Regions from separate parts of the Homo sapiens genome. Here all the other regions are linked to region 1. The links are contacts of gene promoters, found by promoter capture Hi-C in blood cells and fetal thymus (Javierre and others, 2016). All regions are on one chromosome and are shown on one strand. Each heading gives the region's core, a stretch centred on a gene start or on the middle of the fragment in contact. The rest is flanking DNA. Distances are from core to core; before and after follow the strand shown.

The links. The method cuts DNA at HindIII sites, captures the fragments that hold promoters and counts their contacts. A CHiCAGO score of 5 or more calls a contact.
Region 2: a fragment that was not itself captured here is called in contact with the fragment with the promoter of ELL2 in region 1 in 3 of 17 cell types (M1 macrophages, M0 macrophages and M2 macrophages); the score reaches 10.0 in M1 macrophages.
Region 3: a contact is called between a fragment that was not itself captured here and the fragment with the promoter of ELL2 in region 1, in 2 of 17 cell types (M1 macrophages and M2 macrophages). The highest score is 6.7, in M1 macrophages.
Region 4: a fragment that was not itself captured here is called in contact with the fragment with the promoter of ELL2 in region 1 in 5 of 17 cell types (M1 macrophages, erythroblasts, M0 macrophages and 2 more); the score reaches 11.9 in M1 macrophages.
Region 5: a fragment that was not itself captured here is called in contact with the fragment with the promoter of ELL2 in region 1 in 1 of 17 cell types (neutrophils); the score reaches 5.0 in neutrophils.

What each region holds. Positions count from the first base shown.
Region 1 is chr5:95,959,839-95,965,075 of GRCh38, forward strand. It overlaps ELL2 (elongation factor for RNA polymerase II 2), which reads right to left and starts at 2,013. Exons shown (of 12, transcript NM_012081.6): 1 at 1,737-2,013. The coding sequence starts at 1,883. It overlaps LOC101929710 (a long non-coding RNA gene), which reads left to right and starts at 2,163. Exons shown (of 5, transcript NR_130776.1): 1 at 2,163-2,198. It also overlaps a transcript of CAST not described here. RefSeq lists silencers at 1,427-1,836, 1,907-2,146, 2,102-2,569 and an enhancer at 1,865-2,622. The HindIII fragment of the contact is 3,633 bases long and covers 1-3,259 here.
Region 2 is chr5:96,146,128-96,150,921 of GRCh38, forward strand. All of the region lies in intron 1 of LOC101929710 (a long non-coding RNA gene), which reads left to right. It also overlaps a transcript of CAST not described here. Among named protein-coding and RNA genes, the nearest start is that of MIR583, 69 kb to the left of the region's middle. The HindIII fragment of the contact is 2,406 bases long and covers 2,317-4,722 here.
Region 3 is chr5:96,129,755-96,135,224 of GRCh38, forward strand. The region is part of intron 1 of LOC101929710 (a long non-coding RNA gene); the gene reads left to right. It also overlaps a transcript of CAST not described here. Among named protein-coding and RNA genes, the nearest start is that of MIR583, 53 kb to the left of the region's middle. The HindIII fragment of the contact is 2,983 bases long and covers 2,298-5,280 here.
Region 4 is chr5:96,173,001-96,178,216 of GRCh38, forward strand. All of the region lies in intron 1 of LOC101929710 (a long non-coding RNA gene), which reads left to right. It also overlaps a transcript of CAST not described here. Among named protein-coding and RNA genes, the nearest start is that of MIR583, 96 kb to the left of the region's middle. The HindIII fragment of the contact is 1,419 bases long and covers 1,901-3,319 here.
Region 5 is chr5:95,781,011-95,785,781 of GRCh38, forward strand. RHOBTB3 (Rho related BTB domain containing 3) reads left to right here. Exons shown (of 12, transcript NM_014899.4): 10 at 2,787-2,953. Among named protein-coding and RNA genes, the nearest start is that of GLRX, 39 kb to the right of the region's middle. RefSeq lists an enhancer at 235-284. The HindIII fragment of the contact is 2,886 bases long and covers 901-3,786 here.

The DNA.
Region 1 (5,237 bases), core at 763-3,262:
CCACCCAATTCTGTGAGTACCTTCCTAACAATACACTCACCTCTGAGCCTCCACTGCTGTTTACAAATACCCTATCATGTGAGTTCATTTTCTATCCAAAGCGTGCACAACTAATGCCTTCCTCTGTGTGCACACTTATGGGGTGGGGGGGCTCTCTGAATACACTCCCAGTAAACCAGGGTTCACACCTCTCCTGCCGCTCTGCCTCAGACTCTGCCTTCGCTCTATGTATTTAAAGTGCCTGGCACTAGTGGGAGCTCAACAGATGTCAATTCTTTTCCCCACTTTTAGCTGAATAACTATGTGAATCTGTGTCTCGGTGTCCTTCTGCCCCTCTGTCTGTTGTACGAGACCGGTTGGAGTGTGTTCCTCAGTACCGAACGGGCTATTTGTAAGATGCCCCGTGGGTTCTATCTCCCTTCCGACTCTCTCCTCTCCTGTAAAACGTTACAGGTTCCCCCATATGGCATATCCCTCCCTCACGCGATGTATCCACTCCGGTCTCCCACAGTACTGCATGTCCATAAACTGTTTCCCCATGCACCCTGGTTACCGCGTCCCTTCTCGGTGCTTCCCTGTCTCTCCCATTTTTTTTCCAACATGAAAGCGTCTGGATTTGTAGTCCAATTACAGTGTATGTGCGCCTATCTGAGCCTCTCTCTGTACTGGAGGGGTGTGTGTGTATATGTGTGTGTGTGTGTCCATGGGCTTCTCTCGAAAACGAGGGGTGAGAGGCCCGAGTCTCTGCCCGGGATGCATTGTATCCTCCCCACACCTTCTGGCTCTGGCTCGTTCCCCGTTTACACTTCCCAGAGTCAGCCCAAGACGCCGGGAGCTTTTTCGGGTACGTTGAGCGTCCGTGAACCTCTCTCTCCAGAACCCGATGTCTTGCTCCCGGGGAGCGCTAAGTGTGCGTGAGTCCTCAGGTCTCTCCCCAGGGCACTGTGTTGGTTTGTGTCCGTCCTGGACGCGGCGCGTCTCCAGTAACGCGATGCGCCGGTGTCCCGGAGTCCCTGGGAATGCAGGTGTGTCCCCTCCCCCCCCGTACGCGAAGCGCCAGTGTCCCCGCCGTTCCAGTGTGCGCCGCCCCCTTACACGGACTGCCTAAGTCCCTATCTCTATGAGTACACCGTGTGCCCCTCACCATGCGCCCGAGTCCCCATCCCTTCGAGCACACAGTGTGTCCCCTGATACGTGGAGCGCCTGTGTCCCCAAGTCCCTGGGAATACAAGGTCCCACCCCCACACGCGGAGCGCCTGTGTCCTGTCTCTGAGGATCCACCGTGCCTATGTAACTGGAAAACGCGGGCAGCTGGTGCCCGCGAGTCGTCCCTGGTTCCTTGCCCATACGCTGCTCGCTACCCTCCTTCCCCGCCGAGGGTAGCGTGGTCATCTCACTTCTCTTATCGGGGCCTCTCTCCCTCCTTGGGACCCAACAAGCCAGGAAATCCTCGGGGGCCGTCGGAAAGTCCCGCAGCGGCAGCGCAGCCGACCCAGGGCTGCGGCTGCCTCGGCCCCGCCGCCAGGGGCCGCCCGACTGCCCGCTTCCCCAACGCCCAGGCTAGCCCGGGACCGCGGCGTCAGCCACCCTGCCCGGCCCTGCCCTGCCTGGCCGCTGCGGGCGCTGACGGTAGCAGCTGCCAGCCACGGCTCCGCCGGCCCCGCACCCGGGCGCGGCCAGGCCGTGAGGGGTGCGCTCTGCCTCTCTGAGCCCAGCCTGCCGGCCGGCCCGCTCACCTTGTGGCTCTGGTAAGTCTCGAGCGCCCGGATCGCCGTCTCGGTGAGCTTCACATGCAGTACGGTGATGTTGTCCTGCCCCAGCCGTCCGCACGACAGCCCATAGCGCTGCTCCTCCCGCAGGCCCCCTGTCCCCCCCGCCGCCATCTTAAACTCCCCGGGGTGCCGCCGCCGCCGCCGCTCCGGCTCTAGCCTCCACTGCGGCCGCGGCTGCTTGGGCTTCTGCAGCCGCCGCCACTGCTAGGGCCATCCCGCTGCTGACGTACTGTCATATACTGCGCGGAGCCAGACCTCGGACTGCCACCGCCGCCACCCGCCCCACCCTCCGGCCCCGCGCCCCGCCCCGGGCTCGTCTCATTGGTCTTGTTCCCTTCAGAACCGCCCTCATCGGCCGCCCTCCACTCTCACGGGGGCGGGCCCAAAGTCACTAGAGTTTTGCTCCTGGGACGGGACGTCCGAGAGGTAAGAGGCTGACGTCTAGGTGACGCGCCAACTTAATCATGTCTGACGTCACGTCTGGTCGTCTTGGCTAGCCGGCCGAGATTGGCCAGGCTGGCTTGGGGACTCCCCTGCTAATTGGAAGTCCAGGTTGCCTGGTCTGGTTACCTGGAGTTGGAGCCCCGCCCCTGTGGGGGATAGTAGTGAAAAGTCAGAATTGGGGAATCTCGCCCTACGCGGGTGGTCCTTGGAGAGGAGGATCTCCACCTCCACTATGTAAGGGGATGGCCGTGACCAAATAAGGACTTTGTTCCCCGACGGCTGCGGAAGCTGTGGAACTTGGTGCGTGCGTGTGGGGGAGGACGCAGCAGGAGGACTCGCTAGAGAGCTGCTCCTCAAAACTCCTAGTACTGTAGTTGAGCAAACGGCATTGGGAGGAAACTGCTCACTCTAAACTTGAAGTTATCGGGTGCCACACGCAGAGCTTATAAAAACAAAAACAAAAACAAAAACCCTTGAAATTAGTGAGTCGACTCTTAGATGTAGGAGTTGTGTTAGATCTTGTGGAGCATCTTAAGGACAAAATCACGCGGGAGGTTAAATGCCTTTCGTATGGTGGGCATGGTATAATAGAGAATTGAGCTTCGAGGTCTTTCCTACGCCATGCCCTGTTGTGATTCTCTGGGATCACAACTGGTGGGGATGATATCTCCTTAAAAAGGACTCTAGAAGAAGAGTAAAACTGGCATTGATCTAAATTAAAAGAAACCTCGACAATTCTCATTCTCTAATTCAGTTTGAGTATTGTCCTTTTTATTTGATAGGGCTGTGTGAAAACCTAGCTAGGGTTTAAAGGTAAGAGGCTGTCGAGGTTAAGCGAAGGAGATGGGGGCGTGAGGGGCGTGCAAAGGCCTGGCATACTTTCCATTCCATCCACAGGATGCTTCCTGTGTAGGCGTGGCTAAAAGAGGGAGCCTAATCTGGAGTCCCTTTCAGATTGTGTGTGGATAGACTGACAGATGGGTTCCTGTCAGAGGATGGATTAATTGGTTGATCAGAAACACCAGATAAAACAAACCATTGAAAGCTTTCAAACTGTTGAAAGGCAGTTTAAAAAAGTTCTTTTAATAAAAAAACTGAGACGCTTGTTTTTACCCTCAGCTTATAAAACCATGTTCTGTTCTACTGGGATTCCCCGGGAAAGTTTATAGATATTTAATCAGTATTTTTCATTATTTTAAATGGATTAGGGCCATGATTCCATGTCCTCCCCTCCCAATAAATGCCTTCCCCACCGTACGGGTACACTCCTTTTTGATTCAGACCTTCAAACATAGTAGGTGTATAATGTGAATTACAGAATGAATTGGATTAAGTGGAAACACCTGTATTAAGTGTTACTCCATCACAGGAAAACAGTTTGTAAATTGACTTAATTTCAATCCACTAAGATTGGCTAGCTGTTAAGACGTGATTAACGCTTGCTAATTTCATTTACTTTAGTGATACAGTGTTATCTTAAATTCATGTAGTAGAGATATTAAGGTAATCATCAAATTGGATTAAAAAGTTTACTCTTAGAAGGGAAATAGAGGCTTTACTACCTAGTTTTCTCCGCTTTCCAAAAGTAGAAACCTTATTCAAATAGTTCATCTCTAAGCGGACTATAATCTAAAAATAATTCTGTACTTGAACTTTTCTTTTCTCTCTCTCTTTTTTTTTTTTTTTTTTTGATAGTAAAGGACTGAGCACATAGCTAAAGCCTTAATTATTTGGGAGGTGAGGGGGAAGGGAGGTTTGACCGGAACAAGTAAAACCTGTATCCCACTGCTTTTCCGGTGAATGTGGGTAAATCCCCACCCACATGATATCCTAACTTGGCCTACTCTTACTCAGAATTTCTGATGACATCCAAGCGGGTGGGGGAGGAGTAAGGATGGTTTTCGTTGTAGTTTTCAAATATCTGACCTGTAGCTTCTTACTAGTAATTGACTTTTTTTAAAAATTATAATAGGAAAATTTTTCTCATGCCCTATTTTAGTGGGTAACAAATCTTTCACGGATTAATATATTATTGTAGTGAGTTAATGGTTGTTTGTATTTTTCCCCTTTTGAGCTTTTCAACTGTGGAAGGAGGAAATGATCAAGTACAAAGTAATATGGTAATCTAGCAGTGTCTTTTCATTGATGTCTCACAGGCATAGTACACATTACGCCTGCCTGAATCAGATGGTCAAGTTATGATGCTGGTTAGGATAATTTATTTTGAGGAGGCTGATGAAAGGTGCTTTTTGGGAAGGTTGCCATTTTATACATATTTTCTGTATCTTTATCTGGTTTAAATAATTAAATAATCATTGAATACCAGTTAAGTATAACATGCGGTAGAGGATTTAAAAATTAAACTGTAAAGTCTCTAGAGGAATTTTCTGTTTCAGTGTGGCAAGTGAACCAGTATAGTCAAAGCAAAGCAATTAGAAAATTAGTAAATGCTAATTTGGACGGTGTTGGTGATAAGCTCAAAAATTCAAAGAAAGGAGAAGTCTGAAGAGGTTTAATGGAGGTGATAGAACTTGAACAGCTCTTGAGGGTTGAGTAGATTCTAGATAAGTTGGAGGTGGTATAGATGGAGACAGCCCAACTAAAAATGATCTTCATGATGATTCCAGGTGGACACATTAGTTTTATGAAGGAGGAACTGAGACCCCCATTTATTTAAAAGCAACCTGCCTAACATAACCAGGAGAGGCAGGGTCGGAATCAGCTCTTTAAATGTCCTTCCAGTCCTTATATACACTGAGTAGCTATGGATTAGATTTAATAACTGAGAAGAAATCTGTCATATAAGACAGTTCAGTGCAGGAAAAAGGCTAAAAGGAATTTGATGCAGGGCCTGCTCCATCTCTCATGTCTAGTATACAGTGCTGGCAAAGGATATGTGACTATCAAGGCCTTCTCTGGCATTCAAATGCTGGGCCACCCCTCATTCCAGGTTGCTGCATATTTAATGACTGTTTCTCACATCTTTGGTACAGAGGTCACCAATTCAGATGCCTTCAGGGA
Region 2 (4,794 bases), core at 2,270-4,769, 190 kb after region 1:
ATGACAAAGAATTTGCAGTTATCTCTGATCTATATAGCAAGGCTATGTGCAATTAATCACTGTAAAAGCTGATGTTTGAAAAAAAATGAGGGGCATAAAAAGTAGGAATTTGAACATAAGTTGTCTGCTGACCGCATGTGATATAAAGGGAGAAATTAGCTGCATGAGAATCACATTCAGGTGGACTCAAGGAAGAGCATCACATTCAGGTGGACTCAAGGAAAGGTTGCCTTAGACCAATTCCACCAGAATTACCAGGAAGATGTGTTAAAATGCAGATTGCTAGGACCCACTGCCAGAGTTTCTGATTCAGCAGGCCTCAGGCAGGGCCTGGGAATTTATGTTTCTAACAAGTCTTCAGGTGATGCTGATGCTATTGGTCTTGGGAACTACACTTTGAGAACCACTGCTTTAGACTGTGCAGGACCAGGAAAAGTGAGAACATTTAAATAGACAAAAAAAGGAATATTATTTTTCCTCTAATGCTATTTTTAGAAGCCTAGTGTCAGCAGCTTAAATTTAAGTTCTAGGCCACAGCAAACACATTAACATACAGCCTTTTTTTTTGTCAGGGTAACTAACCCTAGTGCTGCAACATCAACCCATGACATCTCATTAGCTTAACACAGCAAAGTTTTCTTCTCACTCATGTAAAGTTCATTGTGACTCAGCAGCTTCCCTGTCTGTGTCAGTATACCATCTGGAACATGTGGCTCTCAGTGTTGCTGAGGCAGGGGAAGAAAAGGGAAGAGAGTGAAGAATGAAGCACACTGGCTCTTAACTGCCTCAGTCAAGAAGTGACACGGTTACTTTGTATCAAAGTCCATTGGTCAGAACTAGTCATATGACCTCAATCTTAAGTGCAAAGGAAGCTGGGAAATGTAGGAGCGCACATGGATAGTCAGCAAGCCCTACCTGTCTCTACCACAGTACCAGATAACTTTAGTGCCCCATGTTCTGTGATTATGCACAGCTGGAAGTGGAAAGAGTTTCATGAGCCCTCAATTGTAGGTACACTTATAATTATTCCAACATTGTCATTATTACTTTTTAAATATTTATTATCATCTGTGAATAATTTATGGTTTTATTCGTAGTTTTCTATGTGGCATTAAACAGAATGCCTAATGACATCACTGTTTCGAAAGAAGATCTGTTGTAAAAACTACTTTTAACCTTGTTACAAATAATTTGGGGCCGGGCGCGGTGGCTCACGCCTGTAATCCCAGCACTTTGGGAGGCCGAGGCGGGCGGATCACGAGGTCAGGAGATCCAGACCATCCTGGCTGACAGGGTGAAACCCCGTCTCTACTAAAAATACAAAAATTAGCTGGTCTTGGTGGCGGGCGCCTGTAGTCCCAGCTACTCAGGAGGCTGAGGCAGGAGAATGGCGTGAACCTGGGAGGCGGAGCTTGCAGTGAGCCGAGATCGCACCACTGCACTCCAGCCTGGGCGACAGAGCGAGACTCCGTCTCAAAAACAAAACAAAACAAAACAAAACAAAACAAAAACCCCAAAAAAACAAAAGAACAAATAATTTGGTAAGGCTTTGTTACATCATTCTAGCTGTTCTATTGAAGACTGATTAAAGAAGCCACCACCTCTTTTTCTTTCTCATTTTGCCAACCACACAATTCTTTAGGTAAGTGTCAAAGTGATTACTTATGCTGCCGTAGTCTAGATAGCCTGTGCAGATCAGCAACAGGACATTATCAGCACTTTAAAACCATCTTATGGTCATTTTTGAAAATAAAAAAAGAAATTAATTTTTATCCCATCCATCCACATGAATCCCACTGTTAGCTCAGTATTAGAAAATGTGGTACAGAATATTGTCAGTGAGAAACAAAACAGAAGTTTGGTTCAATTTCATCATCGGACTTATTGCTATTGCCTATCTTTTGTCTGGAATTCTTTTCTTACGGTGACTTCACAAAATTGACACTGTGAGAGGGACTATTGGTCACACAGGGACTCTTTGGTCATGAGAAAATAGTTCCTAGTTTTCTTCTGCTGATGGGAAGATTTGTTTGGCAGATAAAACCTCAGGAACATGCTATGTACCCAGTCTCAGCAGGTTTGAGGCAAATTTCCATTTTAATTTTGTCTCTCAAATTCTGTTGGCTTAATCAACACCTCTGATATGTTGAAACAATATGATAATGATTTTTTTTGTGGAAATATGCTTGATTGGTAGCAGTCACCTGTCTGTTCGGCACACTAAAATACTGTCTGTCATGATTATTAGAAAGCGTCTGAATTATGTGTTTTGATGCCTTCATTATATGGCTTTAGTTTATAATTAGAATCTTCATAAGCTTTTTCACCACAATTATTCGGTAGTTTCTAGGCAGGCAGTTTCTTTAAATGAATAAGTACAGATCAGCATTACTCTCCCCACTGAACAGATGAAGAAACTGAGACAATTTCATGCCTAGCCCAACACGTTCTGGTGAGTCAGAGTCAGCGTTAGGATAAAACTTCAGTTTATGTGCTTAGGCCAACACATCTTGTGTAACTCTGAAGTTAAATTTCTGGAATCAGGGACACTCTTTTGGTTTAATATATGCTAGAGCAATAGAATGATGTGTAGTTATAAAAACTGGAAACTATTAAATCAAGTTATCTGATCCCTACCTGAGCTAGGTGAAGAAATGCCTAACTATACACGGAAGACTGTATAACAGTGGAAAGAGCAAGAGGCTAGAGTTGGAAGAAGCAGACTCCAGTGAGAAGAGCTGTGTGACCTTGGTCACGTCACTTAGCATCTTAAGAGCCTAGTGTCTTTACTTGTAAAGTGTGGGGCATCTGAAGACACATTTTCTAAAGTCTAAATTTCTATTGCAGAATTTTGAAACTGTTATATTTGTGTTTGGAAGAATCCTTCTTAGGTGAATCTTAATTCAATCAAAATTTCTATTCTCTTAAATATTTATTTTTAAGTGGAAATTATTACAAGAGACAGTTTCCTTGGCTTTGACTTGGCGTATGGAGTCTTCTCTCTGTCATCAGTTCTGCTGAAGAGCACAGAAGGGAATTGGGGAATGAGACTTGTCTGTGAGGAAGCTGTGTGTACACTGCAGGCACAAACTTGTAAGGCAAGACTCCCTCCATAACTCCTTCCCATTCCTCCTGGGGCTGGAGGCCGAACTCTAAAACACCTCCTCCTACCCCACAGTGCCTTATTGATGGATGGAAGAAGTTTTCACATGGGGAGGATATTTGCTAGGCTATTTTTCTAGCAGCTCTTGTTATCCATCACCATCCCTATGCACTTGGTCTGTTTGTCATGGAATGAGTCTGGGGGAATTTGCTTTTTCAGCTTCTTTCTTCCTTCCCATGCTTTTGCCAAGTGAGAAGAACATGGCATCAGCCTCATTGAAATGCAGTGGTGCCTCCCTATTTTTCCAAGGCTGCCCCTGTGAAAAAGGAGCTTGATGAGACTCATTAAGGGCAAATCATGGGGGTTAGGGTTACTTTGAAGGGTTTTCTCTGCAGAGGTCCAGATTTATTTCTGAATATCACTGACCCAGAGGCCAGTTTCACATCCTGCAAAAAAATGCTCTAAGAGAATGTGTCAGCAGAACTGGCATTGCATGTCTAGACAAAGAATTGACATTAGCATCATCAGCTAGCATCCAATCTGTTAATTCTTGTGTAAGCATTCGCTGTCTGAGCCTCAGGCATTTTTGGACTTGAAACAAAAACTTTAGCTCTAAGATTTAAACTTAGGTCTTTCAGGAGCTTCTTTCAGGGGAAGGAATAACAAGGTAACTTATTTCAAGATCAGATATTTTATTGATAAACATAAAAGTTCCCTCATCTTTTTTTTTCCTTCTTTAGTAAAATGGTGACTGTGTCATCACCATCTTCATCCTATTGTATATTTGTTATCTCAAAAAATATTTGTTAAATACCCACTGGGAGTTTATGCAGGGCATTCTGCTGATACATTGGTGAATAAAACAGCCAAGGTCCCTACCTCCTGGAGTTTATAGCTTAATGGGGGAGACTGCCCACAAACAAGTGTAACAGGATCTCTCTGTCTCAGTTTTGGCTGAGGCACCAGAGAACAAAGCAGTAGGTGTCAAGTCCCTTGGCTTTCTAAACTGAGGTGCTAGACTACCTCTGCAGGACTGGTGGAAAAGGTACTGGTTCTGCCAGTCAGAACCCATCATCTACCTCCAGGGCTCCAGGGTTGAGGAGAAGGCTTAGCGTTCTTGGAGGTTTCAGTGTTGGTAGAGGGGATTTCTTGAGGAGAGTTGTCACTGTGCTGTAAGGTTCCCCTCACTGCAGGGAGGAGCTGTGTATCCCCCACTCTCAAAACTAGTAGGGAGGAGGCTTCCAGGGAACCACTCAGAGAGAACGCTGTCCTGTGTTTCCTGAATCTGGGGGACTTGGGGACTGACATATGAGGCATCTCAAGGCAGAGGCAGGGGCAGTGGAGAGAAGAGATGCTGTATTGAGAATGGCCAGCCCTTCCATAGTTGACTGGGTAAAAACTGACTCTGAGGAAGGAGCAGACTGGGTCATCTTGGCAGCAACTTAAGAGGGAGAAACTACGGAGTGAGGTGACTCTGGAAAGAGACAGGTCTCTAGAATGGAGTGGCAGAGTGGGATGGTGGGGAAGATTCTTAAGGGACCAACCCGAAAGACTATTGCCTGGCAAAGCAGCTGTGGGGGGCAGGGCCTCTGAAAACCCCATAAAGAGCAGGCCTGGGAAGCTTGGTTATCTGCCAGATGCAGAGGTAAAAACCCCAGATTACAGTGACATCTGACAAGACAGACCTATAT
Region 3 (5,470 bases), core at 2,539-5,038, 170 kb after region 1:
CTCTAATAAAAACATGAAATCATTTAGAAAATGGAACAAAACTTTGACAAGTAGAAAAGTTTATGATTTCAAATACTATGAAGCTATTTCTAAAAAGTATTAATTATAATAGCATTGCCTTGATTACCTTTGTTTTTTTACCCAGAGTGTGGTATTTTGAGGCATCCCTTATAACTAATTGTACTTTGTTGAAATCGGTATGCCAACTATGTGAGATTACATACAATTCCATATGAATAAATGCACCAGGTAAGAAAACACACACACTTTTTTTTTTTTTTTTTTGAGACGGAGTCTTGCTGTCCCCTGGGCTGCAACTTTCTTCCAGAGTACCTGTGAAAAAAGGGTTAGTGGGGAAGAGTAACTTACAATGGAGAAACATAACAAACACTACCTCAGCCAAGTGATTAAGATCATCACCAACAATGCTAAGTCATGTTGATAGAATGTATCTTCAATTTGATACAATTAAAATAGCACTTCCCATAACCCCAGTCCAATATGTGAAAAAAATCAGACAAATCCCAATTTACGGATATTCTACAAAATACCTGATTAGTCCTCCTCAAAACTGTCAAGGCCATCAAAAAACAAAGAAAGTCTGAGAAATTGTCACAGCACAAAGGAGCCTAAAGACACAGAAGATGTAACATGGTCTCCTGGATGGTACTCAGGAACAGAAAAAGGACATTAGGAAAAAAAAAAAACCTAAGGATATTATCTGAATAAAATATGGACTTTAATTAACAATAAAGTATCATACTGGTTCATTAATTGTGACAAGTATACCATATTAATATGAGATGTTAAAAATAGGAGAAACTGTATGGAGGGTATTGTTCTGCAAATCTAAAGCTGTGTTAAAATTACATGTTTATTTTTTAAAATTGCACATAAAAGATTACTAATTCTAAAATATAAAATATTACAAATCGAAAAGAGAAAAACAACTCAAAGAGAGGGAAAGGCTATTTAACAGGATATCTACAAGAGAGAAAATCCAAATGACCATAAAATTTAACCAACAAACCAAAAGAAGATACTGACCTTATCTAATAAAAATTAAAACATGATACTCTTTTATAACCATCAGTTTAGCCTACAATTAAAAGAGTAAAAATATCCATTGCTTACAAGCATGCAGAAAAATGGACAATCTCCTACATCGTTGAGTGAAGTGTGATTGCTATGACCTTTTACAAAGTATGAATAATATCTATCACAATAAGAAACATACATACACCTTTATCTAGCAATTGTAGTTTCCCAATCTATCCTACAGCAATAAAAGCAGCACAATGAAAATACATATGCATTGTTACATTGTAATGTTGTAAAACAACATTTTCAGTGGTGAAAAATAGAAACAAACTTAATGGCCATCAATAGGGTAATGGTTAAATAAATTATGGTATATATAGACTGTAAAATATCATGCAGTTACTAAAAAGAGTATATGTCTATTAACCTAGAGAGATGCTATGAAGTTATTTTAAGTGATGAAAGAAAATTGTAGAGTAATATGTACAGTGTGATAGTATTTTTAAAACCCTTTCTATGTGCCTCTAAGTTTAAATATTTTTGGAAGCCTGCACAACTGGCTGTTAACATCAGTTATCACAGGAGAATGGAATGCAGCTGTAAATTTAATATCTTGTTATTATACACACACACACACACACACACACATACATACTAAAATAAAATAAAATAAAACCTCAAGCATGATTGCCGTATGTTACATTTAGCTGTGGGATGTTCAGGAAAAATAAATGGCAGAGCTGCAGCAATTGACTTACATGATTGCTGCCTAGCAGCATTTCTGTAACACAGTAAAATGAGAAGATATTCTCCTTGGGATCACCGTAACCTACTTTTTACATTAAGAGAAAAAGCACCAAGGTATTTATTTTTATCAGCGACCTACATGAGAGCAATGAGCCCAGGAAGTCTGTATTTGCTCTCATATAGGTGAGACTGCTAACTTCCTAGAAGTTGGGAAGAGTTCACACCAACTTTTGATAATTCAGAAAAATAGCATTTTAGAAAATAAAATGAAGTCCCACAAACATAAGTATCAAATCATACACAGGGAGGACCCAAAACAAGAAATTCGATTCAGGTGATGTTGGCAGCCATGGGACATGTCTGAAACCAGTTCAATCAGCAAGAGTAGCAGGGTACATTGAAAAGACACAAACCCAACTGGATAAGTCTAGAAAGCAAAAGCCAGAAAATGGAAAATGTAGTAGAACATTTCAAAACTGTTCAATTTCTTCTACACACAACATAGTCAAAGCTTTATTCAGCCACACAAAGGAAACATAGTATCTGAAGCTACTCAATCCAATCTTAAATGTATGGCTATACTTATAATCAAACACTGTTTAACAGAAGCAGTGTCAATGAGTATGTTTTGACAGAAGGGAGGGAGGGAAAGAGGGAAGCAATTAAAAGTAAAGTTGCAAAAGATAATGTTGAAAGCCTGCACTAGGGAAATAGCCATTTTTTCTTTTAAAAAATTTTATTGATACATAGCAATGGCATGTATTTATGGGGTATATGTGATATTTTGATACATTTGTACAATGCATAATGATCAAATTAGGGTAATTGAGGTATCTATCACCTCAAATATTTATTTCTTTGTGTTGAGAATATTTCAAATCTTTTCTTCTAGGTATTTTTAAAAATACAATAAATTACTGATAACTATAGTCACCTTACTGTGCTATCAAACACTCCAGCTTATTCCTTCTATCTAACTGTACTTTTGTACCCACTAAACAACCTCTCTTCATTCTCGCCCCCCATTTTTCCCAACCTCTAATAACCACAATTCTACTCTCTACCTCTATGAGATCTGTTTTGGCTCCCACATATGAGTGACAATGTGTGATAAGGAATGGCTCATCTTTAATTTGAAAGACTATGGATATAGAAAGGCAGACCTTCTTGAGTCTTCATGGACTGAGAGAACAGACAGAAGGAAAATTATATAAATATTTATAGCCAACCTGGTTAACACAGTCTTGCAAATTGAAGGAAAATATGTCCCAGCTGTAGTAAACCTATAGAATGAGAGTTTTATGAGCAATCTTGAAGCATATCCACTGGACTTTATAGTAAGTTCTCTAGACATATGAATATAAGACAAGATGCTAAAAGGAACAGATACAAAGGAATCCACATGCCAGATAAGGATATCAGTGTATTTCAGATTAGAGCTTCAGAAATATTAAGATGACAGGCAAGAGTCAGGCCTCAGAAGTGGCAAAATTACAGTGCTTTCTTTTGTAACCAAGTCTGTCACATGAAGGGTACATCTTAACTCCAAAGATGTCAGGAAGAAACAGAAAGTGTTTTAAAAGTCTTACTTACACTCAAGGCATTTGCTGAAGCAAAAGAATAAAGTAGAAAAGAATAATATGCTGTGACCAGACAAAACAAAAGTTAACATTAAGAGATTAGCAAATGTATCCACTCTGGCTTAAAGACCACTTTTGGTTCTGGTCATAGACCCCTCAAAACGCTTTGAGAAAAAAAAAAAACACACACACACATGAGTTTTCCTAGAAATGTTAAGCCTCCCTCAATGAGGTAATTTTGAGAGAAAAAGGATGTGGGGACAAGGCAGAATAATGGAAGGAGTGCTGGAACAAAAGTGAGAAACCTTAGGTTCTAGTCTTGGCTCTACCCCTGATTCACTGTGACACCCTGAGGTTTTCTGTAACATTCTTTACGACATGAGAGGGGTGAAGTATCCCATTCCAATACTTTAAGTGGTATAACTGAAATGTGTTTCATTTTGCTTTAAATGGAAATTTACTTGTGCTTATGGTTCTGAGTTTGAGCCAGTTTCCCATATTTTCCTTCTGAATAAGGCTATAATAAAATCTTCATTACAAATTTTTGTAATATTTTAAATTCTTACCTGGAACTGCAATGGTCTAGGCAAGTGTTTATAAACTTGTTTTACAATGCACTTTGATCAACAGGCTGGTTACACAAAGACTGATGTACAAAATAGAAAAGGGGGGCTGCATTGGTGAAGACGAGAAGCCAGGGTTTGGAGAACAGGAACAAGGGCTACGAAAGGTCAAGTTCTGCTCACTCAACTTCCCCACTGTGTTTTTGGAGAGGCCCCTGTGGGCTGCTACTGAAGCCCTCAGACTCCTAAGATTAACAGTGAAAGTCAAGGTTCTGTGAGAGGTTTTACCCCAAACAAGTGATGTGGGCACACATATTTGGCAACAAACGTTGAGGAACACAACTCTGTTTAAACCACCGTAAAACCTCCGTTTCTACAGTGAGGGAACTAACACCATTTGGCCTTTAGTTGGTAACAATTAATCACAAATGCCTGTAAAGGACTGAAAAGGCCGCTACAGTGCTCTGTTACAGTTTTCCAGGTTACCCCAAATGTGCTCATGTGAATTTTTTGTTTACAGAACTATTAAAATGAAAATACAAACATAAAACCAAAACCGTGTGACAACTGCAGACCCACAAGAATATGCCTTTCACCCCATAGAGTTTCTCTAACCTCTTTTTGATTAAAACTGATTTCAGAAAGGGCAATGCAATCTCCATTTTCTTTCTCAGAAGTCTTTAAGATATATATTACATCTGTGAAAAGTCGCTTTACTGAATAACTGGCACAGACTTCAATGATGAATACATCAAGAATCTCAGCTTCAGCCCAATCTGTGCCTCTACTGGGATTCAGCTGCTCCTGGGCCTTTAGGGCGACCCAAGGGATTGCTCCCACCCACAGCCCACCTGAGGCCTGTTTGCATGAGTCAATTTGTAGGAAGTCTGGTGTGGAAGCAAGAAAGGGCTACACAAAAGTCAAGATATGGGGTAGCAAGCCCTGTGGATTTCCCTAAGCCATAGGAAGAGAGAGGTGGCAGGCCAGTGGTACCTAAAGGCACAGGAGAACATCTAAATAAAGAAGTCTCTCACCCAGTCAATATTTATGGAGTGCTTACTATACATTCCATGTATTGTTCCAGGCAGTGGCAATACAGCAGTGAAAGAGCCACGGTTTTCTGCCTCTAGTAGGAAGAATAGCACATAAGTAAGTTGTAAATCTTAACAAGTGCTATGAAGGAAATAAAGAAAGCCTGTGGTAAGTGGGGACAACTTTGAATAAAATATAAAGGGAAGACCTCCACAAGGAGGGACATGGGAGCTGACAAGGAAAGATGAGAAAATGGAGTGAGAAGGAGAAAGACACTTCCAGGAAATAGCGAGAACACAAGTCCTGTGGCAGGAGAAAGCTTGGCACTTGCAGGGACCAGAAGGCCGGCAGCATAGTGGGAGCCTATTGAGAGTGGGTGGTACAGCAGGACAGGCCAGGTTCCCTCCCACACCATAAGGGTTTGCATTCAATCCTCAAAGCTATGGAAACCCACGGGATGACTTTAAACAAATAATTTATTTTACTTACTGCTTTAAAATATCACTC
Region 4 (5,216 bases), core at 1,360-3,859, 210 kb after region 1:
TCCTGGTAATGAAGCCACAGTATTCTCTTACAAGTCCATGTTGCATATGGGTATTTCTTATTGTTAGATCTACATCCTACCTCTGGCATAGATACCGACTGGCTGGGAAGGTGAATTTCCAACTTCTGCTTTGTGGCGGCTTGACTACAAAGGCTGAGACTCCCCAAACATGGGAAAGATGTTCAAAATATTCTGGGTGACCACAAAAAGCAACTAAGATCTACTGCACTGGAACTAGAAAAAGTGAGATGTTAAATTGGATATAATGTTTCATGTAAAGGAGCAGGAACTCTATGCCATCATATTATTTGCAGTTGTGAGACTTTGCAAGAGTCCGGGGTATAGTCCTCATAACTATCAAATATTTTTGTACTCTGACATATAATGTAAACAATTTGCAAAAAGTACACAAAGAACTGTCATCAGAATAATGGTACTTACAAGGAGCTTAATTGAAACTTGAAAGTTTAACATTTGGAGCAAAATACATAATAGAGTAACCCAATTGGAATACCCTCATGTAGTAATACCAGAAATTCTGAAAAATGTAAATAAACAGATAGATGTTATGACAGTATCTAAAGGATTGGTAACTATTTGGTACATGTGGTAGTAATTTACATTATATCGAGGTTTTCTTATAACTTCCTCTTTTGAACATAAAACATTCTGTTTGATGTTTGGGGTATTATTTTTATCATTATATTAGCTTAGGAATCTGAATCTCAGATAAATGAACTTTTTTTTTTCTTTTTTTTTTGTGAGACGGAGTCTCTGTCGCCCAGGCTGGAATGCAGTGGCGCCATCTCGGCTCACTGCAAGCTCCGCCTCACGGGTTCACACCATTCTCCTGCCTCAGCCTCCCGACTAGGTGGGACTAGGTGGCGCCCGCCACCACGCCCGGCTAATTTTTTTGTATTTTTAGTAGACACGGGGTTTTCCCGTGTTAGCCAGGATGGTCTCGATCACCTGACCGTGTGATCCTCCCGCCTTAGACTTCCGAAGTGCTGGGATTACAGGTGTGAGCCACCGCGCCCGGCCTGAACTTATTTTTTAAGTCATCTACTTGTTAAGTGACACATGAGTCTTGAACCCAGAGTTTTCACTTTTAATTTCATGAAGATAAAGAATCTGAGGAAGGTCCTCCTATCAAGCACAACATGGAGGAAGCTGTGCAAAGAGATGTTGAGATTCCCAGGAGCCTCTTTGGGCTGCCCAAACTTGCCAGTTTCCTTCTTTCTGGTTGTCTGGTCCATTTCCATTAAGGGAATTCCAGTTCTGATTCTTCTTGGGCCACACTTCTAGTTCAAGTTACTGCTATGAAGGATATTCTCCAATTTTCACAATTAGTCCATGAAACAATCATTAGACAGATATTTGTTGAGTAGCTGTGAACAAGGTCCTGCGCTGGGCGCTGCAATCATTCTTCCACTCCTCCGCAGACAGGAGGAGTTCGCCCTCTTGCTTATGTGGGGAAGGAAAGTCCAGTCAGAATCCTCTGTATGACAAGTCTACCACTAGTTGGATGATAAAGGTTTAATGTGCAGACACAGATTACAATTTTAGTTTTATAGGTTTCCCTCCTTGGTTAGAATTAGTAGTTTAATATTGGCACTGTTTTTTTGTTCTACTTTGTTTTAAGAATTTTTAGAAATGATACAGTTGTATACTCTCTCTTTCTAGCTTCTGGCTCATGATTTGTAATCTTGTTAATGTCTTTTCTAACCAATCAAAATAAGTAAAAATGTGTTTTTATAGTAGTGTTGCCATAGAATTAATGAGGCCTAACCATGTACAATCTCTGTGTGATTGGTCCCCAAAATAGTATTTGTGTGGTATTCTAACATTTCAGCAAATAATATATTTAAAGGTTTTCTTTTCAATCTTTAATGAAATCAAAAGCTTTCCTCCTCAATCTTTTTGTATTCATTTCAGATTTATCTAGGCAAACTGATATTAATAATTTTTATCAAGGTAATAGGTATACAATACTTTTTACTAGATTTTCTAATATATATGAAAACATATTTAACTTCAGATTTTTTAAACTAATCCAGAAGAAAAGCAACTGAAGTTTTTAAATTTAGAAGACATAGATTTTTCTTATTTTTATTATTGGTATTCTAATAGTATACTAAGAAAATGTAATATAAGCTACTTATAAAATAGTACATGCAATTAAATGAAGTCAGTGTACTACACTATAATAGTTTGTCATTGGACAGAACTCATCAGTTGGCCGGTTAGTACATGTGAATTTTGCATGAAGTACAAGGGACTTTCAGTTCTGGGCAACCAGTGCCAGTGAAAGTACCCTACTGGCCAAGATGGAAATTACTTTGATTTTGAGGTTCCTTGTTTCACATGCATTAAAAAAAATTATCGAGTATCTACTGAATGCCAAGGACTCATTTAGGCTCTGGAGGTATAAAGAACTAAATAAGACAAACAAGATCCCTGCTGTTATAGAAACTATTATTTAGTATGGAGAATTGAAAATAAACTAGTAAACACATAAATGATTGAGAGCATCTCAAAGAGATAGACATGTAATTTAGATGGTAAACAGGGCAATGGGCTATAAATTAATTGGGGTAACTTTACACAACGTTGGTCAGTGATGTCCTTTCTAAAAGCGTGACGTTGTTGCTGTGACCTGAATGACATGAAGCAACTATCTATGGAACAATGTGTGTTAGTGTTTCACATGGATGCCATGCATGTTTTTGTTTTAGTGGTTAGACTAGAGTGATGCTTCCACTCAGTGAGATAGAGCAGTATGTTTAAATATGTGTTAGTTTGCTCAAACTTTTGTGATGCTTTTCTAATACATCCTGGTTATTTTTCTTAAATATTCCTATTCCAGCACTAAGAGTACAGAGTTAATTCCTTTATGAGGTCCTGTTTGAAGTGCAACTGCTGATGTATAATTTCACAAACATCATTCCGCCTCTAGTAATGTTATTTCCTTGCAGCAATAATAGTCCAAGTGGGTAAGTGCTACCATAGCGGAAATTACAGGGAGCTAAGGGCTCGTCTAGCTCTATTTTGGAGGCTAGGTAAGGCTTTCTGAAATAAGAGGTTTCTAAACTGTGATCTGAAGGACAAAGAGAATTTTCCCAGGCCCAGGGAATAGGAGGACAAGACAGAAAAGTCTTCTACACAGAGGAACATGTGCAAAGGCCTTCGGAGAGAGAGAGAATGTGGTACATTTGGGGAACTGCCAATAATTTGCATTTGGCTGAAGTGTATAGTTCAAGAGATAAAGTGATAAAAGAGAAGGCAGTCTAGAGAAAGGAGCAGGAGCTGATTACAGATAAGCTTTGCTGAAGATTTTAGGCTGAGGAAAAGGACAACTTTTATTCATTAATTCAGCAAAACTTTATGAAGTGCCTTATGTGCTATGCACTGTTTTAGGCACTGGGAATACATCAGTGAACAGACAGAAGTCCCCACCTTCATTCTGTCTACATTCTAGGGGGCAAGGTAGATAGCAAACTAAGAAATTCTTAGGTAAGATGCCAAGTTTTTGAGGATTTTTGAGTTTGATGCAATATGGAAGCAATTTTTCAACTGGTAACACTTGAGAAGTCACAGGTTAACACCAAAGAATATGTATATTTTTGACAATGCCACTTGAGATTTTGGCATACTTTCACTTTTCTGAGTGAAACTAAACTAAAAGTTTGTCAGTCACAAGGACTGGCTTTTCTTTCTTCCTGAGCCCCTTCTGATAAGGACCTTTTCATAACCCTGTATCGCATGAGTTCTCAATGGTGTTAATTAAATTAGTAGAGCAGTAAATTGGTAGTGAGGCTGCTACTGCTTTCTTAAATAATTTGGAGCTCAATGGAATTACATTGTTTTGCAGAGATTCTTTAATAATGTGCCTTTAAGCTTAGGACTGCATCATCTAAATTTCTCTGTCATAGAACTTTTTGGAAATTGTACCAAACTGGGAGTATATGCTATTATAATACTTAAGAATTCAAATAACTTTTCATGTCTTAATGCATTTGCCCTAAAGTAAGAGTTGGTCACACATGTGAGTTGAATCTAAGAAGTTTAGTTTTGTGATTGAGCAAATTTATTATTATGATTATTATTATTAATTTTAGAGATGGTGAAATTATCCCTCATTAAAAAATCTACTCTGCACTTTACCAACGGAGTAGATTTTGCTGAAGTGCTAACAGATTGCTCTAAAGATACATTCCAAATTACCACCAACTTCCTATTTTGGGAAAAAAAGAAAGGAATCCAGTTTTAAGCCTCTGTCTCTTTAAAACAAAATGCGAGGTGGTGAACTATGTGGCACTTTTGATTATATGTTGAAACCACACTAAGTCCCTGAAATCCAAGAGAATATTGTACTCTGGTCCTTTGTGCAGAATGCTCACATGAGTGCTTACAGGAACCAATCCAGAAGCAAATTGCTGCTGATAGTAACTGACAGCATGAATTACTGCATTTTCAGAGACTCTGCCAGGATCAACCCGTATGATCTCACTTTTGCTCATATAGCAAGCTGAATATGTGCATGTGCTAGAACAAGCCTCCCAAGTTCAGGGAATGGCAAGGTCTCTCAGCAGTTTGAAAATAGCCAGCACCTTTGAAATGAATCACTGTGGCATCTAGTCAGCTCATACTTATAAAACCGGTTTTTCTTTGGTTAATTTCTGACCTTAAGCATGTAAAATCTCTTAGAAAAAGGAGGAACTGATTCATCTGTTTATTTGTCATGTGAAAACCAGACAAGTCAATGAGTGCTGAGGACAACATCAATTTCTCCTTAGCAAGCCGAGCTGCTTCTGGTTCTGCAACTCACTCTGGTCCGTTTGGAGACGTTTTGCAGCTAGTGATTCCCCTGTTGATTCTTAACAACTTTCAGAAATCTTCCTGTAATTTTGAACAAATAAGAACATTGAAGGAAGAACTGTACTCTTCGCTAGAAATACTCAATTGACATAAAATATATCTGATGGAAAATGCTCTAAAAATGAATTCATATTTTGTATACCAACACAACCAAGATCACTAAAATATAATTCAAACATGAGAAGAACTCATCTCAAATATACATATCTGGACATAAAAGTAGGAACTGGAAACATTTGTCCAAAAGATGAAACCATAGATTCAATATCCACAACCACAACCCAAGATCAGTCTCAAGATTTCTTCCATTATTTCAGGACATTATAAAACTCACCTAA
Region 5 (4,771 bases), core at 1,094-3,593, 180 kb before region 1:
TTCATTTCCAAATTCACTGACCAAGGACTATCTTTGACCAGGAACCAAACATCTGTGACAGCTCTAGGTTGGAACAGATCCAGCAGGGTTCTTCTAGCTGGAGGCACTTGAAGAAATAGCAAAATTTTTTCTACAGGCCTGGAGCCTTGCTTGGGATGCTGGCAGGGAAGCCCTCTGTGAGTAGTCTTCAGCCTTTGGCCACCAGATGGCTCCCACCACAAGCACAACTAGATTCGGCCCCGTGGAGCTCAGTTCAGGAGCCTGAGACCTTGATTAGAGAACCTGGTCAGGCACCCTAATAAACATAAAAAGCAAACACACATTTCAAGCCAGACCTCTCTTCAGATTCACTGCTTTAATTTTTAGAATGGAAAGGTTTCTTACACTGGGTATTGAAATAAGTTTTAAACAAGTCATGAGCCCTCTAGTGAAAGATTTTAGAAGTTCAAAAAGAAGCAAATGTATTTGTGTTGATTAAATTAATTCTGGGCTTGCAGCTTTCTGTAGAGTATTTTGGAGCCAGTTGCAGTTGTTTCTGTCAGTGTTAAAGACTGACTTACGGCCAGGTGCCGTAGCTCATGCCTGTAATCTGAGCACTTTGGAAGGCTGAGGTGAGCAGATCACCTGAAGTCAGTTCAAAAACAGCCTGACCAACATGGTGAAACCCCGTCTCTACTAAAAATACAAAAATTAGCTGGGCATGGTGACGTGTGCCTGTAATCCCAGCTACACGGGAGGCAGAGGCAGGAGAATCGCTTGAACCTGTGAGGCAGAGGTTGCAGTGAGCCAAGATGGCGCCACCACACTCAAGCTTGGGTGACCGAGTGAGACTCCGTCTCAAAAAAAGACTTAGTATTTTTGCCTAATAAAAATGAAAGCATTTGTTCTTTTTGGAAATAAAGCTTATTGTTTATTATTTCATTGTTGGCAAATCTGTATATTAAATTTACAAATTGACCAGATTTGGAGTAATAGGAAAATTTGATTTTCAGTCATCCTCTCACTCAAGTAATTGAAGCTGCTAATATTAAGTTTTACCTTGCTAATTAGAAAATATTACAGAGGAAAGCAGTAATAATGATAGGATTTTTAAAAATTGGCAAAAGTGTGTTAGGGAAAAATGAGTCAAAATGAATAATCAAAAAGTTAAGCCAGATACTGGAATCTGTGCATTGGGAAGATCACAGAAGACAGGTAATGTTATTATGTTAAATATTCACCATACACAGTGTTCTTGGTTCCATAGCTACAAAAGAATGTAAGAATGTAAGGAGGGATAAGAACGAGAATTACATGAAAAACCAGATTTCTAGGGAAGTATTGAAAAAACCCCCAGCCAAATTGGGTGGTTGCCAGGGGCTGGGGAAAGGGGGAAACAGGGAGTTAGTGTTTATTGGGTACAGAGTTTCAGTTTGGGAAGAAGAAACATGTTCTGGAGATGGTGGTGGTGATGACTGCACAGCAGTGTGAATGTACTTCATGCCAATGAATCATATACTTAAAAGTGGTTAAAATGGGCCGGATGTGGCGGCTCATGCCTGTAATCCCAGCACTTTGGAAGGCCGAGGCAGGTGGATCACAAGGTCAGGAGATCGAGACCATCCTGGCTAACACGGTGAAACCCCGTCTTTACAAAAAATACAAAAAAAATTAGCCGGGCGTGGTGGTGGGCGCCTGTGCTCCCAGCTCCTCAGGAGGCTGAGGCAGGAGAATGGCGTGAACCCAGGAGGAGGAGCTTGCAGTGAGCCAAGATCGCACCACTGCATTCCAGCCTGGACGACAGAGTGAGACTCCATCTCAAAAAAAAAAAAAAAAAAAAAAAAAGGTTAAAATGGTAAATTTCATGTTATGTTTATTTTATCATAATAAAAACAAAACAACAAACCAACCAACCAACCTGAAGACTAATGTCAAGAAAAAAAAATGGCAAGGATCTAGTTTAGCTAACGGAAAGATTTACCAGATAGTCCTGGAATTAATTTTTAAGGGCAATTATAGAATCACCTTTTCTGAAGAATTAAAAAAAAATAGATTCACTTCTGAGTATGAAGGCTTGGATTCTTTTTATTTTTACTTTTTTATTTTATTTATTTATTTTTATTTTATTTTATTTTTATTTTTATTTTTTTGAGATGGAGTATTGCTCTATTGCCCAGGCTGCAGTGCAGTGGCATGATCTCCGCTCACTGCAACCTTCGCCTCCCAGGTTTTAGTGATTTTCCTGCCTCAGCCTCCCCAGTAGCTGGGACTACAGGCGCCCGCCACCACACCTGGCTAATTTTTTTTTATTTTTAGTAGAGATGAGGTTTCACCATGTCCGCCAGGATGGACTTGATTTCTTGACCTCGTGATCCGCCCACCTCGGCCTCCCCAAGTGCTGGGATTACAGGTGTGAGCCACTGCGCCGGCCCTTCTTTTTAAAATGGAATAATAGGCCGGGTGTGATGGCTCACATCTGTTATCCCAGCACTTTGGGAGGCCAAAGTAGGAGGATCATTTGAGCTCAGGAGTTCAAGACCAGCCTGGGCAACATAGTGAGACCTGTCTCTACAAAAAAAAAAAAAAAAAAAAAAAAGAAGAAGAAGAAAGGAAAGAAAAAAAAGATAAAATGGAATAAAAGTGCAGAATGCTGACTCCCTCGAGGCTTTTCCTAACCATTCTATTCTATGGTGGATGCTACGGTCAGCATGTTTTTTTAATTGTTGTTTTTTGTTGGTGGGGGGTGTTTAGATCATTAAAGAAATGGTTTCATCATCCACTTTCTCTCATGTCCCTTTTCTCATCAGCTGGCATATTCCAGGCCATGTGTCTCCTGATCTGTGCCGAGATGTACCAAGTGTCCAGACTGCAGCACATCTGTGAGCTGTTCATCATTACCCAGCTGCAGAGCATGCCAAGCAGGGAACTGGCATCCATGAACCTTGATATAGTTGACCTGCTTAAAAAGGCCAAGGTAATTGACTCTGTGTATCTGATAGCCTAGTTTTTTATAAAATATTTTTCAAATTATACTATTTTAAAATTTATCATTTTTTAACATACGTTAATACTAGTCTTAGTTTGGAAGTTTGGCTAATGAGGCTAAAGTGCCTTCACAACAGTTTATCTGGCTAGATAATTTTGAAGCGTTAGGGTTTGTGTGCAGTCCCTTTTATAAGGAGGCAAAATGTCCAGATACGGAATTTTTTTAACTAAATAGTGGCCCTTAGTAGAGTCATTTGAATGTGGTGCTATACTATGTCACATAGGCATTGTAGGAAATAGAATTTATGTTGAATTTCCCCAAACAATCACATCTTCAGGTTCCTAAAAGGGAAATGACAGAATTGGTCCATATATACTGATAGCGATGGTTAAGCTAAACTAATTTACTTCTTCATTTTTTCATCCATATAATGAACATGTTTTGAAGTTTCAGTTGTATGTAGGAGATATTGGTGTGCCTCATTTATCCTTGCAGAATGCCTTTTGTTTTCATGTCTCACCTTATTAGCAATCACTGCCGTATGTGTACATGCTTCTTCTGGGCCTCTTGTAAGCTCGGAGTCTTTTGTTTTCAATAATTATATCATTACTGATTTTAGAGAACGGGGGTGGGGGAGTTACATAATTAAGTTAATTTTAAGTAACTGCAGTTACAGAGGCCCTAAATTATGAATCAGAGCCAGGTCTGTAAATAAACTAGGACTACTGTGTTGAAATCTACTTCCCAAACCCCCAGATGTGCTCACAGTCAAAAACCTGCCAAATCCTTATTCCCACTTTCTTTCATTCCTGGAAGCAGAAAGCTTATTCAGATGGGCCATCCTACCGTTGGCCATTCTGCCATTCCATCCACTGCCCGAGACAGTTTCAGCACTTGTGGTAGTTATGGCACACTCTTGTGTACTCAACTTGTGGTAAGCCGAGCCCTCTAGGTTTTTTTCACAGGAATATATTTGTTCAATCACTACAGAGTGTCAGTACTTCTTGAACTATTATCTGGCATCCAACATGTCTATACCTATCAACTTTGACGTCCAGGGTTACAAAAGCATGACAACTTTTATCTCCATCCACATTGCTAAAATGGAGCCACATGATGGGGCAAATTCCAGATCTGTGACAGCTGAATGCTTGCCTCCAAGCTGAAACGAATTCATTCATCAACACTTCTGTTTATAGAAGGGAATTTATTTGAAGCATCTAGGTCTTCTCCTACTATCTCCTTAACTATTTTGGACTTCATTTCTCTCATAATCAAGTCTTACGATCACATGTATTTAATTAGGGCTAAAAACAAATTTAAAAATTGAGTAGGGCCAGGCGTGGTGGCTTACGCCTGGAATCCCAGCACTTTGGGAGGCCGAGGCTGGCGGATCACGAGGTCAGGAGATCGAGACCATCCTGGCTAACACAGTGAAGCCCAGTCTCTACTAAAAATACAAAAAAAAATTAGCTGGGTATAGTGGCGGGTGCCTGTAGTCCCAGCTACTTGGGAGGCTGAGGCAGGAGAATGGCGTGAACCCTGGAGGCGGAGCTTGCAGTGAGCCGAGATCGTGCCACTGCACTCCAGCCTGGGTGACAGAGTGAGACTCCGTCTCAAAAAAAAAAAAAAATTGAGTAACACTGATCTCTTTTTGTAAAACGTTTACATTCATCTCATGATAAATAGCTCCCCTCTAAATTTAGTTTACAATTTTTAAAATTCTTTCTAGTAGTTTCACAATCTCAGTTCATTTTTGATGTATCATTTTCATACTATTCTAACAAGTTGTTCATACTTTTTAAA